4 separate regions of the Homo sapiens genome follow, and regions 2, 3 and 4 are each linked to region 1. The links are contacts of gene promoters, found by promoter capture Hi-C in blood cells and fetal thymus (Javierre and others, 2016). All regions are on one chromosome and are shown on one strand. Each heading gives the region's core, a stretch centred on a gene start or on the middle of the fragment in contact. The rest is flanking DNA. Distances are from core to core; before and after follow the strand shown.

Region 1 (2,754 bases), core at 98-2,597:
CAGGAGCAAGCAATGCATGTTTTGCTCCTCTTTTCAACTCAGGGAAGAAGATTAAAATTGCTCAGTCTCCTTGGCTTGCAGAGATTTCTCGCGGGGATCATCAGGGGTGTGCTTAACCCTCCAGGCAGCACAGTAAAACAGGCCTAGCGGCCGAGCTGCGCAGGGGCGCTCCCATGTAACCTGCCTCTCCCTGCACTTTCTTATAAACAAGCCTTCAGTGGCGTGGCAATCATTTCTGCTGAAAAGCACTGGCATTCGTTCCTCTTATGCCCTCTCCTTTCTCACTATCCCCAAAACCAGAACATAACTTCCCACCCACCCTACTCCCGTCAGAAGCAGCTAACGGATGGTAACAGCCCAGCAGCCCTCGGTTTGGAGCTCAACGGACTCGGCAACCACCTGGTGAAGGCACCAGCCTCGGCCCCCCGACCCCCACCAGCGGCGCGCCCCAGGGATGCCCCCCGCTGGGCACCGCAGGCAGGACCCAGAGCAGCGAGGCCCAGATGCCGGGCAACCCCCCAGGAAGCGCGCTGCCCCGGGGCAGCGGGTGAGGCCAGGAGCCAGATGAAGCCCAGAGACCATCCTCACCCGCCATTAATAAAACGCAGGAAAAATTAAAGCTTCGTTTACCGACATGAGTGATCACTGTGGCCAGTCGCCGGGTGAGCTCCTGGGGAGGCATCTCTTCTTTTAAGCAAGACAGCATTTCACTGAAAAACCATTCCGTATAAATAAAGCCAAACAAAACTGTTTCTACCGCTGCGGTGGATGATTTTTTAAAGGCATCTCCGCCCAAGGATGCTCTGCCCTCGCCCTCTTCCTGGCTCTCCAGGCAAGAAACGAGAGTCCCTCGCAGCCTAGGCCAGCTCTCCCTCGCCACGCCCCGCGGGGGCTCCCGTGACAGACCAAGTCTGGCGCTTTCCCAGCGTCGCAGCTGGACCGAGAGAGGAGCGGCCGTTCTGCAAAAGGAAGCAAGTCGCCAATCTCGCCGGAACCGCGCCCCGGCTCCTCCGGCCGGGCGAGCTCCGGGGCTTCCAGAATCGCGGTCCCGGCCGCCAGGTTTCCGGCGCCGCCTCCAGGGACTGTAGAGTGAGGGATGCTCCGCCAGGTGCAGGGGAGGCGGCAGGTGGCCGTGGCTTCTCTGCGCCGCCGGCCCCACGCCCCAGCGCCCACCTCGTCCAGCCCACGGGTGGCGCCCGGGGCTCTCGGGGAGGCACGCACGCTCCCAAGCGCCGCTCGTTTTGGGGTCGGGAACGCTGCGCACCTTTCCCTGCGGGGAGCCCGCGCTCCACCCCCGGAGTGGAGCTCCGGTCCTTACTCGGAACCGTGGGGCGGGGAGACAGTGACTGAGGCGCTCCAGTCGCACCGGGGTCCGGATCATCAGACGCGCGCCGGCCAGGTCTCCGCCCCTCCTTCTTCCGCGCCGGGTGTCTGCGGAGGAGCCGCGGAGAGAAGGGGGCTGGCCCGGAGAGCTGCCGCCATCCGGCAGGACCCGGAGCGGGAGGCTGGGTGAGGCGCCGCTGCTTGCCCCACCTCCTGACCCCGGGGGCGGCTGGCGTGTGTTTTCCCCCACTTGGGGTTGTTCCACGCAGTTCTTGACCTCCGCTGGCCACACCTGCACTGGGAGCCCGGCGCCCGGGCTGCGCTCCGACAAGGCTGAGCACGCGTGGGCGCGCTCACCCCCTATGTGGGCGTTTTCCTTCGTGCAGCTGCGCCCTTGCCTCTGCTCCGTCTGTCACCTGTCAGGCACGCCAGTGCTACCTTCTGGAGGGGCTGTGGCACATCCTCCATGCTGGTCCTCCTCCCCATCAGCCCATTATCCCGTGGTTTCCCTAGTTGGGCCCAGACACTTTCTGACTGGCAGCAAAAGACTAACCCCAGTTCAGCAGAGCGCTACGGGAAACGCCTGAGCAAATGCGAATTCGGTCAGGTTGTCCCCCAATCCTTTCTACAGCGGGAGTCCCTGAATACTCAGCAGGCGGAATGGCGGGACCACCCAGGCGGATGTTCTCAGCCATCTCTTTCCTCTTCGATATGTAAAAAGCCAAGCCGCAAACACCCTGGATCCAAATTCTAGGAGTAGCCACCCATCACAGGGGGCTGAGGGTATTTTTTTAATGCTTTCTCTTTTCTTCTTTTTTTTGGAGACTGAGTCTGGCTCTGTCGCCCAGGCTGGAGTGCAATGGCGCGATCTCAGCTCACTGCAAGCTCCGCCTCCCGGGTTCACGCCATTCTCCTGCCTCAGCCTCCCGAGTAGCTGGGACTACAGGCGCCCGCCACCACGCCCGGCTAATTTTTTGTATTTTTTAGTAGAGATGGGGTTTGTTTCACCGTGTTAGCCAAGGATGGTCTCGATCTCCTGACCTCGTGATCCGCCCACCTTGGCCTCCCAAAGTGCTGGGATTACAGGCGTGAGCCACCGCGCCCAGCCCTTTTTAATGCTTTCTCTAACAATTGTGGGCTGTGATTGAGAAGCGAGGTCAGTTCACCTGTGTCATGAGATTTGTGGAGAGGTTCTTCCCCCTGTGAAGTTTGGGCACTTTGCACTCTGCCTGCAAAACAGAGCAAGGATTTTCTTTTTCTTTTCTTTCTTTTTTTTTTTTTTCGTTTTTAGAGATGGAGTTTCACCATATTGCCCAGGCTGGTCTCAAACACATGGACTCAAGTGATCATGCCCGGCCACTGAGCAACCATTTTCACAACCACCTTTTGCAAGAGATTCAAAAAAGGGTTAAAAGGCCGGGCGTAGTGGCC
Region 2 (2,700 bases), core at 120-2,619, 180 kb before region 1:
TGCCTATCTCTCCTTCACACCCTCTCATCTCTCCCTCCTACCACCAAAAAACTTGCATCGTATTTCCAATCTCCAGACATACTTTTGAAACCATTTATCTATCTGGTGTGTTTATCTGTATCTAGTATGATGTGAATATGTGATTTGTATGTGTGTCTACCACTGTTTTGGTCAGTTTGTATTTCTCGTGGGTACAGTTCTATGTGCTCATGTATGTGGAACATATGTATACTGACACATGGACCTAGCTCCAAATGATCTGAAAGGAATATAATTGTAATTGAATATTTGCACAGATATACAACATACACATGTGATGGCTGGGGGAAATGCATGTGGGATTTCAGTCAGCATTTTATTAGAGAAGGTATGTCATTAGTGCTGTATTAACAATGAATCAGCTTATTTGTGGGTCACTGTCAATGACTCCTTTGCAAATCACACATGTAAATATTTCTGTCTGTGGTCTGATGAACATGCAGTGCCACAGTCTGGGAGATGCTGAGCCATGCCCTGTGTAGGCAGCATATGAAAAGAACTGCATGATTTAAAAGATGCTGACCAGCTTAAGGAAAGCAATTTAAAAACTTCCTAAAAATCTAGTTTGAATGAACAACAGTTTTCATTTTGTGTGTGTGTTTTTTCTTTTAGAGATGGGGTCTTGCTATGTTGGCCACGCTGGTCTCTAACTCCTGGGATCAAGCAATCCTCCTGCGGCTCAGCCTCCCAAAGTGATGGGATTACAGGTGTGAGCCACCGTGTCTGCTGGCCCCACTGTTTTAAACCCTGATTCGACAATCATACATTTAACTCATTACCTGTCTTGTTCCTTTTACGACAAACTCAAAGCTTTTATTTTACTAAAGTATTTGGGTTAATCTTTTGCTTTTCTGTCATGTTCTGAAATATGTACAATAACAGAATCGCTCAAAATATTATCTCCGTTAAATGTTTTGTGGCTTTAGGGAGAGGTCTAACAACATGCGGGAAACAAGAAATCAAGCGCATCCAGGATTCATTTATAATCTCTCTCGTTGAGTAGAAGTCCGCATCTCTCGATATTGTCTGGTTACCTGCATGAAGTATTCTAAAGGAGGAAAATAGCTCAAAGAGGACATTCATGTGCACTCTGGCTTCCAGTTGGCCATTTGAGTAAGTGATCGCAATTAACTGACGAGCGGCAGGGAAACACTTCCTGGAATTCTCATCTACAGACAAGAACAAACTGGGGCGGGGCCCATCACCTTCACCTACGCGCCGGGAGGGTGGCGGCTGGCGGGCGGGGCCGGGCTCGGGCCGTGACGCCGAGAGTGCGGGGCGCGCGGCTGGGAGCCTCGCGCCCCCGCCCGGGCCCGCCCCCATCCCGCCCGCATACAGCCCGCATCCCGCCGGGGAAGCGAGCCCAGTCCAGCGCTGCCCGTCCAGTCCTCGCCCAAGATTTAAAGCCCGCAAGTTTTGTTCTTGAGACCAGCGACTTTAGCTCCGATGCGGGAAGGAAAGCCGACCTCCGATTTGGACATTTAAAGAGCTGGGCTTGAACTTCGTGAGTTTCGCTCTAAACTGCCCTTGAAATGAAGCTGGACTTGGAGGTAAAGTCACTGGGAAGCTGGCCTGGGGCGGGGTTTCCCCCTCTTCTCGTATTTTAGAAACGGACAGCGGCAGTGCAGCCCTAGTTTGCTGTAAGTTTCCTTACTTTGTTACTGAGGCCCCCAGAGCTCCACGCATAAGTGGTGTGACCAGAAACCTTTTAACAAGACCCGCCTGAGCCTGCGTTAGAGCTCCCGCTCGGAAAGTAAAAGACCATCCTAATCCGCGGCGCTGCGGAACCGGTGTCCCGTGTGGGAGGAACCGCGGCGTTCCCTGGGCGTAGGGCCCGCGAGGCCAGCACAGTCCGCCTCTTGGCGGAGCGCCCTGGGCCGGTGGTTCCGCGCGGAGTTAGTCTGTGGTCAGTTACGTGGTGAAAACACGGCTGTGCCGCGGCCGCATCTTTCCGCGGCCGAGGCCTCTCTGGGTGGGAGTGTTGGCTTCCTTTCCGGATCGCTAAATGGGGAAAGTTCTGGCCGCTCGGCGGGATACGTCTCCAGGCCACGGATGGTTCGTTCTCCGTGCCGCGGCCCCGAGCTGGGCTCCCTGGGTCTCCAGCGCGGGCTCCCGGCATTGGGGGCTGCGGGCCGGCCCCTCCGCCCCGCCCCCGCCCCGCCGCGCCTCCTCGGCCGAGCGGCTCGCGGTCTCCGGCGCGGGAGGCTCCGAGTCTGCCCACTCCGGGCCGAGCGAGGTCTCTGGAGGAGAAGAGTGGCGAGGAGGTGAGGGCACGCCGGCCCTCGCCCGGCGGGTGGCGCCAGGACTTCAGGTGGGAACGCGCGCTTGGGCCGGGGGCGCGTGGCTGGCGTGGACACCGGATCGGGGCCCGCCGCCCTGGCCCGGACCGCGCACGGCCCAGCGCCGGGAAGTCGGGAAGCCGGGGAGGCCTCTCCCACCGCGGGCCCCGGCAGCCCGCCCTCTGAAAGCGCGGCGGAGAAGGAGGCTCGTCCCCTCCCCGGAACGCCTTTGTTCCCTCCGGCCTGCCCGCGCGGGTGGCCAGCGGCTGGGACCCAGGCCGGGCCGCCGCCCAGGTGCGGCAGGTAGGCTCGGGGGCCGGGCAGCTCCGGTTGGGGCGGCTTCCCGGGGCCTGCGGGTCCCCGTCCCTGAGGAGCTCCGGCT
Region 3 (2,717 bases), core at 92-2,591, 160 kb after region 1:
CACACCAGCCCCACAGGGAAGGAAACCCCCTCACAGATTTGCTATCCACAGCCTTCATTTGAAACAGCCTCTTTGGCCATTCCTCACACTTTCTTTCATTCTGTTTACGCTGCTTGTTTTGGGGGGTGATTTTGGCTCTCCACCCTGGCCACATGGCCTCAGGCTGCTTCAAGCAAACAGCCCTCCCCCATCTGACCTGACTGTGATCCTTGTACCCTGGCTCCACTCCTGTAAGTAGAACTATCTCCAGTCCTGAGAGTGGCATCAGGCCACCTACCATCAGTCCCAGGCCCAGGGGCACTCCTTCCTGAGTCCCTTGTCCCACCTTCTTAACACCATGGAAGCACCTTCCCAGCATTACTGTACCCATAAGGCTGCTGAAAGAAGAGGCCTCAGCCTTGGAGACCGAGAGCTGACTGATGCCATAGGGCTGACCCCAGTCGCTCCCTGCCCTGAAGCCTTTGCTGGGGTATTTTTCTGGCATATTAATGCAGTTTGTAATGTCCCAGCTGTGGCTCTGAGAAGAGGCGGAATGAATGGTGTTTTTGGTTTGCTGCCAGACGAGGGTGATCCGCATCCAAGGACACGTTCCTTATGTGATAAACACTGCTCCTCTGGCCATCTCTGGCAATAGTGAGCTCAAATAGCAGAAAACTCGTCTGTGAATGGCAAGGATTGCTGAAAAGTAACTCTCTGCCACTCCAAGGGGATATGCTATCAGGGAAAATACCCCTCTGCAAAGACATGCAGAATCTATGTTCCAGCCCCTTGGAGGCCTGCTCTCAGGAAGCCAGCTGGAAGCCAGGCCCAGACTGGGGCTGCACCAGAGAAGGAGGCAGCAGCTGTTACCAGATAATTAAAGTTAGGCCAAGTACAGATGAGTTCAGGAGGCTGATGTGAGAGTCAGGGTCAGGCAGGACATGAATCAGCTCAGGCCTGTAAAAAACCATTAGCTGTCAACAAAGGACAGGAACAGCCTATCTAAGCACTGTTCAAAGGTAAGAAAACTCTTAACTGTAGGGACATAACGAGTCTTCCTTCACAGAGCACCAACACCAGATCCTCTCTCTCACTCCCAATTGGCTTCGACTGGAGTCTGTTTTGGAGATACTGAGGAATCCCTGTGTCTCTTGTTATCAGATAATTTAACTAACAGGAAGCTCTTTTTCCTAGCTTGTGACATGATGAATGGATCAATGGGTGACTTCGTGAATAAGAGAGGGAAGTAGAAACAGGTGTACTCTATGGATAGAACCAATAGCAAAGATTTTGTTTAAGGACAGTTGGACTTATCAAACTGTCTCTAGAACCATACTGACAGTGAGTTTCAGGAATGCCCCAGTGAAGCTAGGGGTACAATCTTCATAGACTTCATGGACCAAGGGCAACAGTCATAACAACAGCAATCAGTTAGAGAGTTGAGAGTTAAACAGTTAGAGAGTTGCTGCTATGGTCAAGAATTGTGTTACATGCTGTATTAGGATTCTTGCTGCTGAGTAAAAAAACCCAGCTCAAATGGACACATTGGATATCAACCTTTACCAAAATTCATTTGAAAATAAACTTTTTGTTTTAAAATATTTGGTTTCTCTACAAGGCTCAAATCCTCTAAGGTTTATAGAGATAGGAGGAGAAAGGTAAGACAGACTTTGCATTTTATCATGCCTATAAAGTGTTTTAGCATGCTGAGTTGTAAGCCAAAAATCTACCACCATAACGATCATACCACTATTTGTTGGGTCCTTTCCATGTATCAAACCACTGAACCCAAACAACTTTGCAAAGGGTAATTTTGTCATAGACGAAGATTACGGTTCAGAGAGGTTAAGCAAATTTCCCAAGATCATTAAGCCATACGTGACAGAGATGGAATTTGAGCCCAGGTGTCTCTGACCCCCAAAGCCCATGTGTTTTCCACCATAGCGTGTTGGTCAAATAGTCATTGGCGTCTATTGCTATTTGCAGTTTGAATTTGGTTGTGAGGAGGGGATGGGGGTTATAAACACACAATGGGGCCAGGTGCGGTGGCTCACGCCCGTAATCCCAGCACTTTGGGAGGCTGAGGCAGGCAGATCACGAGGTCAGGAGATCGAGACCATCCTGGCTAACATGGAGAAACACTGTCTCTACGAAAAATACAAAAAAATTAGCTGGGCATGGTGGCGGGCACCTGTAGTCCCAGCTACTCAGGAGGCTGAGGCAGGAGAATGATGTGAACCTGGGGGGGCGGAGCTTGCAGTGAGCTGAGATCGTGCCACTGCACTCCAGCCTGGGCAACAGAGCGAGACTCCATCTCAAATAAATAAATAAAAATAAAAAATTAATAAATACACAATGATATCCCCAAATTTCTCATTGTTTCTATGGCTCACAGAACCTCACCCAAGACACCGTGGATCTTCTATTAGTTGGGTGTGCACGAGACATTTTTCAGCCTTAGGAGGTCTTGAGGGCTCCAGTGTAGGTACATGCTCTGATTGCAAGGAGGGAGGTGTCCACCTGTGCCCTCTGCATGGAAGGGATTGTCACTCTGTATGGCCATCAAAGGGTGGAATGCTTAAAGTATTGCCCTTCTTGCCATTCTAGCAGGATTTTCTTGGAGAGGGGCTGCCCAAGCCTTGAGAAGTTTTCTTATCTTTCATCTTCTAACTCAAAAGAAAACGAAATGAATTTCTGTTAACATCTAGTGTCCCCTGGCCCTGAACATTCTCCTATCC
Region 4 (2,700 bases), core at 125-2,624, 180 kb after region 1:
GGCGGGGGGATCACGAGGTCAAGAGATCGAAACCATCCTGGCCAACATGGTGAAACCCCGTCTCTACTAAAAATACAAAAATCAGCTGGGAGTGGTGGCGCGGGTGGTGGCGCGTGCCTGTAGTCCCAGCTACTCCGGAGGCTGAGGCAGGAGAACTGCTTGAATCCAGGAGGCAGAGGTTGCAGTGAGCCAAGATGGCGCCACTGCACTCCAGCCTGGGTGACAGAACAAGACTCCATCTCAAAAAAAAAGAATTCAAGAAGATGGATGCCCTATGACAGAGGTCCCCGTCGAGGGAGCTGAAATCTCACTGCCTGTTGCAGAGTTCACTCTGCCAGGAAATTCATATAACTTTGCCCCACCAAACAGTGGCTCTCACTCCTTACCATGCCATCATGGTCTTCTCTAGCCTTCCTCTTGCCTTAATGGTTTTCTAGGTAGGAAGCAAACATTGGCCTCTGTGTTTAGTATAACTAACTCCAACACCACACCATTCAACCACAACACCTCCCCAACCCCATAAACTCCAAAGTCTGCATGTCAGGCTTCCCAAGAACTCTCTTAGCTTTCAGCCCTGGCTCCATGGAAACACAGGGGCTGTGATTCCTTCTCAGCCCATCACTTGAGCACATCTCCTACCCTGCTCCTAGGCAAGCAATCTGTTATCTGTAAGATTGCTTGCTTAGAACTCCTAGACTTCTATGCTTCTTGCACCCTTAGAACTCCTAGGCTTCTATGCTTCTTGCACCCTTAGAACTCCTAGGCTTCTATGAGGCTGAAGGTGGATGACAGAGGCTGACAGTCACAGGACCAGTTCTGCCATTTTTTAGACAACCTTGAGGGGATATCTAAAATCATTCTTTAGAAATAAAGAGGAATTCTTATCAGCTTTGAGAATTTAACCAAAATTATGAGACATCAGGAAAATCCCATTCCATATTGTTTTACATTAACAATTAAGAACCAATTAAGTTCTATTTCTTGACCTGGTCACTGGTTACTTGGGTGTGTTCTGTTTTGGAAAAATGTATGGAGCTATGTGCTTATGCTCTGTTTATTTCTCTTTATTAGGTTATACTTCCATAAAAAGCTTACTTACAGGAAATTATCCAGGATTCTCCCCCAACCCTGTGTGCTGGATTCTGTGCCAGCTATTTTACATCTCTTATCTCATGTAATCAGGCTGGCTACATTTATTGAGCATCTACTATATGCCAGCAGTATGTTATATTCTTTGTTTTCTTTTGATTTTTATTGTGATGTATAACATACACATAAAAAATTCAGTTTAACAAATAGTTATAAAGTGAACATACATGTAACCACCACCCAGATCAAAAAATATATTGCCAGCACCCCAGAAGCCCCTTATGTATCTCTTCATAATCATAATCCCCTGCAATACTCTTCATATGCATTATTTAATTTAATCCTCACAAAAATCCTGGGAAGTTATTACCAGTAGCTGCAAGCTGAAAAATTCCCAGAGTTCACCCAGACCTAGGAGACATTTGAGTTCTGATCAGCCAGAAAGAAGAAACTGTATTAAGCACCTGGGGCATTCAGTAAAGACCCCAGAAGCACCACACCTTGCTTGTAGGACTACCCTAGTCCCAGAGTAAAGGATACTCTAGACCTACAATAACAAAACTTAAAAACAAGCTTCAGACAGATCAAACTGATTTTCTAATAAATTGTCTGCCAGAATAAAGTCTAACATATTTAAAAGGAAAAAAGCAAAATTGAGCACTCAACAAATGTTGAAATGTCCAGCATCCAATCAAAAATCACCAGAGTAGGCAAGAATGGTTGTGTGCACCTGTTCCCAGCTACTTAGGAGGCTGAAGCTGGAAGGTTGCTTGAGCTGGGAGTTCTAATCTAGCCTAGACAACATAGCAAGACCCTGTCCTAAAATACAATTACAAGACATACAAAGAAGTTTTTTTTTTAATTTTAAGAAGTGATCCATGACTAGAAGAAAAATCAAATTCAGAAATGACAGAGGTAATGAAATTAGCAAAAAAAACAAAAAAAAAAAAAAACAAAAAAAAACCCAAAAGCAAAAACAACTATTGTAGCTATGTTCAAGTATTTAAAAGAAAAATGAATGTAATGCAGAGAGAAATGGGAGATATAGATAAGCGCCAAATGGAAATCCCAGAGATGAAAATATAATGTTTGAAATACAAAATTTGGCCGGCTGCGGTCGCTCATGCCTGTAATCCCAGCACTTTGGGAGGCCGAGGCGGGCAGATCACGAGGTCAGGAGAGCGACACCATCCTGGCTAACACGGTGAAACCCCGTCTCTACTAAAAATACAAAAAGTTAGCCGGGCCTGGTGGCAGGCGCCTGTAGTCCCAGCTACTCGGGAGGCTGAGGCAGGAGAATGGCGTGAACCCGGGAGGCAGAGCTTGCAGTGAGCCGAGATCGTGCCACTGCACTCCAACCTGGGCGACAGAGCAAGACTCCGTCTCAAAAAAAAAAATTACTGAAAGGGTTAAACAACAATTTAGGCAGTACAGAAGAAAAGATCAGTGAACTTGGAGGCATAGAAATAGAAACTATCCAGAGAGAAAAGCACAGAAAGAAAAAAGATTGAAAAAACTGATCAGAGTTTCAGTGACCTGTAGGGCAATATAAAGTGGTATAATGGGATTACAAGATGCAGAAGTGGGGGAGTGACAGAAATAATATTAAAC

What was found. The method cuts DNA at HindIII sites, captures the fragments that hold promoters and counts their contacts. A CHiCAGO score of 5 or more calls a contact.
Region 2: a contact is called between the fragment with the promoter of B3GNT5 here and the fragment with the promoter of MCF2L2 in region 1, in 2 of 17 cell types (M1 macrophages and endothelial precursors). The highest score is 5.4, in M1 macrophages.
Region 3: a fragment that was not itself captured here is called in contact with the fragment with the promoter of MCF2L2 in region 1 in 1 of 17 cell types (M2 macrophages); the score reaches 5.5 in M2 macrophages.
Region 4: a contact is called between a fragment that was not itself captured here and the fragment with the promoter of MCF2L2 in region 1, in 1 of 17 cell types (M1 macrophages). The highest score is 5.6, in M1 macrophages.

The regions. Positions count from the first base shown.
Region 1 is chr3:183,427,272-183,430,025 of GRCh38, forward strand. MCF2L2 (MCF.2 cell line derived transforming sequence-like 2) reads right to left here and starts at 1,348. Exons shown (of 30, transcript NM_015078.4): 1 at 631-1,348. The coding sequence starts at 706. RefSeq lists a silencer at 1,098-1,177. The HindIII fragment of the contact is 2,747 bases long and covers 619-2,754 here.
Region 2 is chr3:183,251,884-183,254,583 of GRCh38, forward strand. B3GNT5 (UDP-GlcNAc:betaGal beta-1,3-N-acetylglucosaminyltransferase 5) reads left to right here and starts at 1,370. Exons shown (of 2, transcript NM_032047.5): 1 at 1,370-1,589. All of the region lies in intron 15 of MCF2L2 (MCF.2 cell line derived transforming sequence-like 2), which reads right to left. LOC124906310 (a long non-coding RNA gene) reads left to right here. Exons shown (of 3, transcript XR_007096189.1): 3 at 652-672. The HindIII fragment of the contact is 12,746 bases long and covers 848-2,700 here.
Region 3 is chr3:183,583,891-183,586,607 of GRCh38, forward strand. No RefSeq gene overlaps it. Among named protein-coding and RNA genes, the nearest start is that of KLHL6, 30 kb to the left of the region's middle. The HindIII fragment of the contact is 4,302 bases long and covers 1-2,717 here.
Region 4 is chr3:183,603,547-183,606,246 of GRCh38, forward strand. No RefSeq gene overlaps it. Among named protein-coding and RNA genes, the nearest start is that of KLHL24, 31 kb to the right of the region's middle. The HindIII fragment of the contact is 572 bases long and covers 1,089-1,660 here.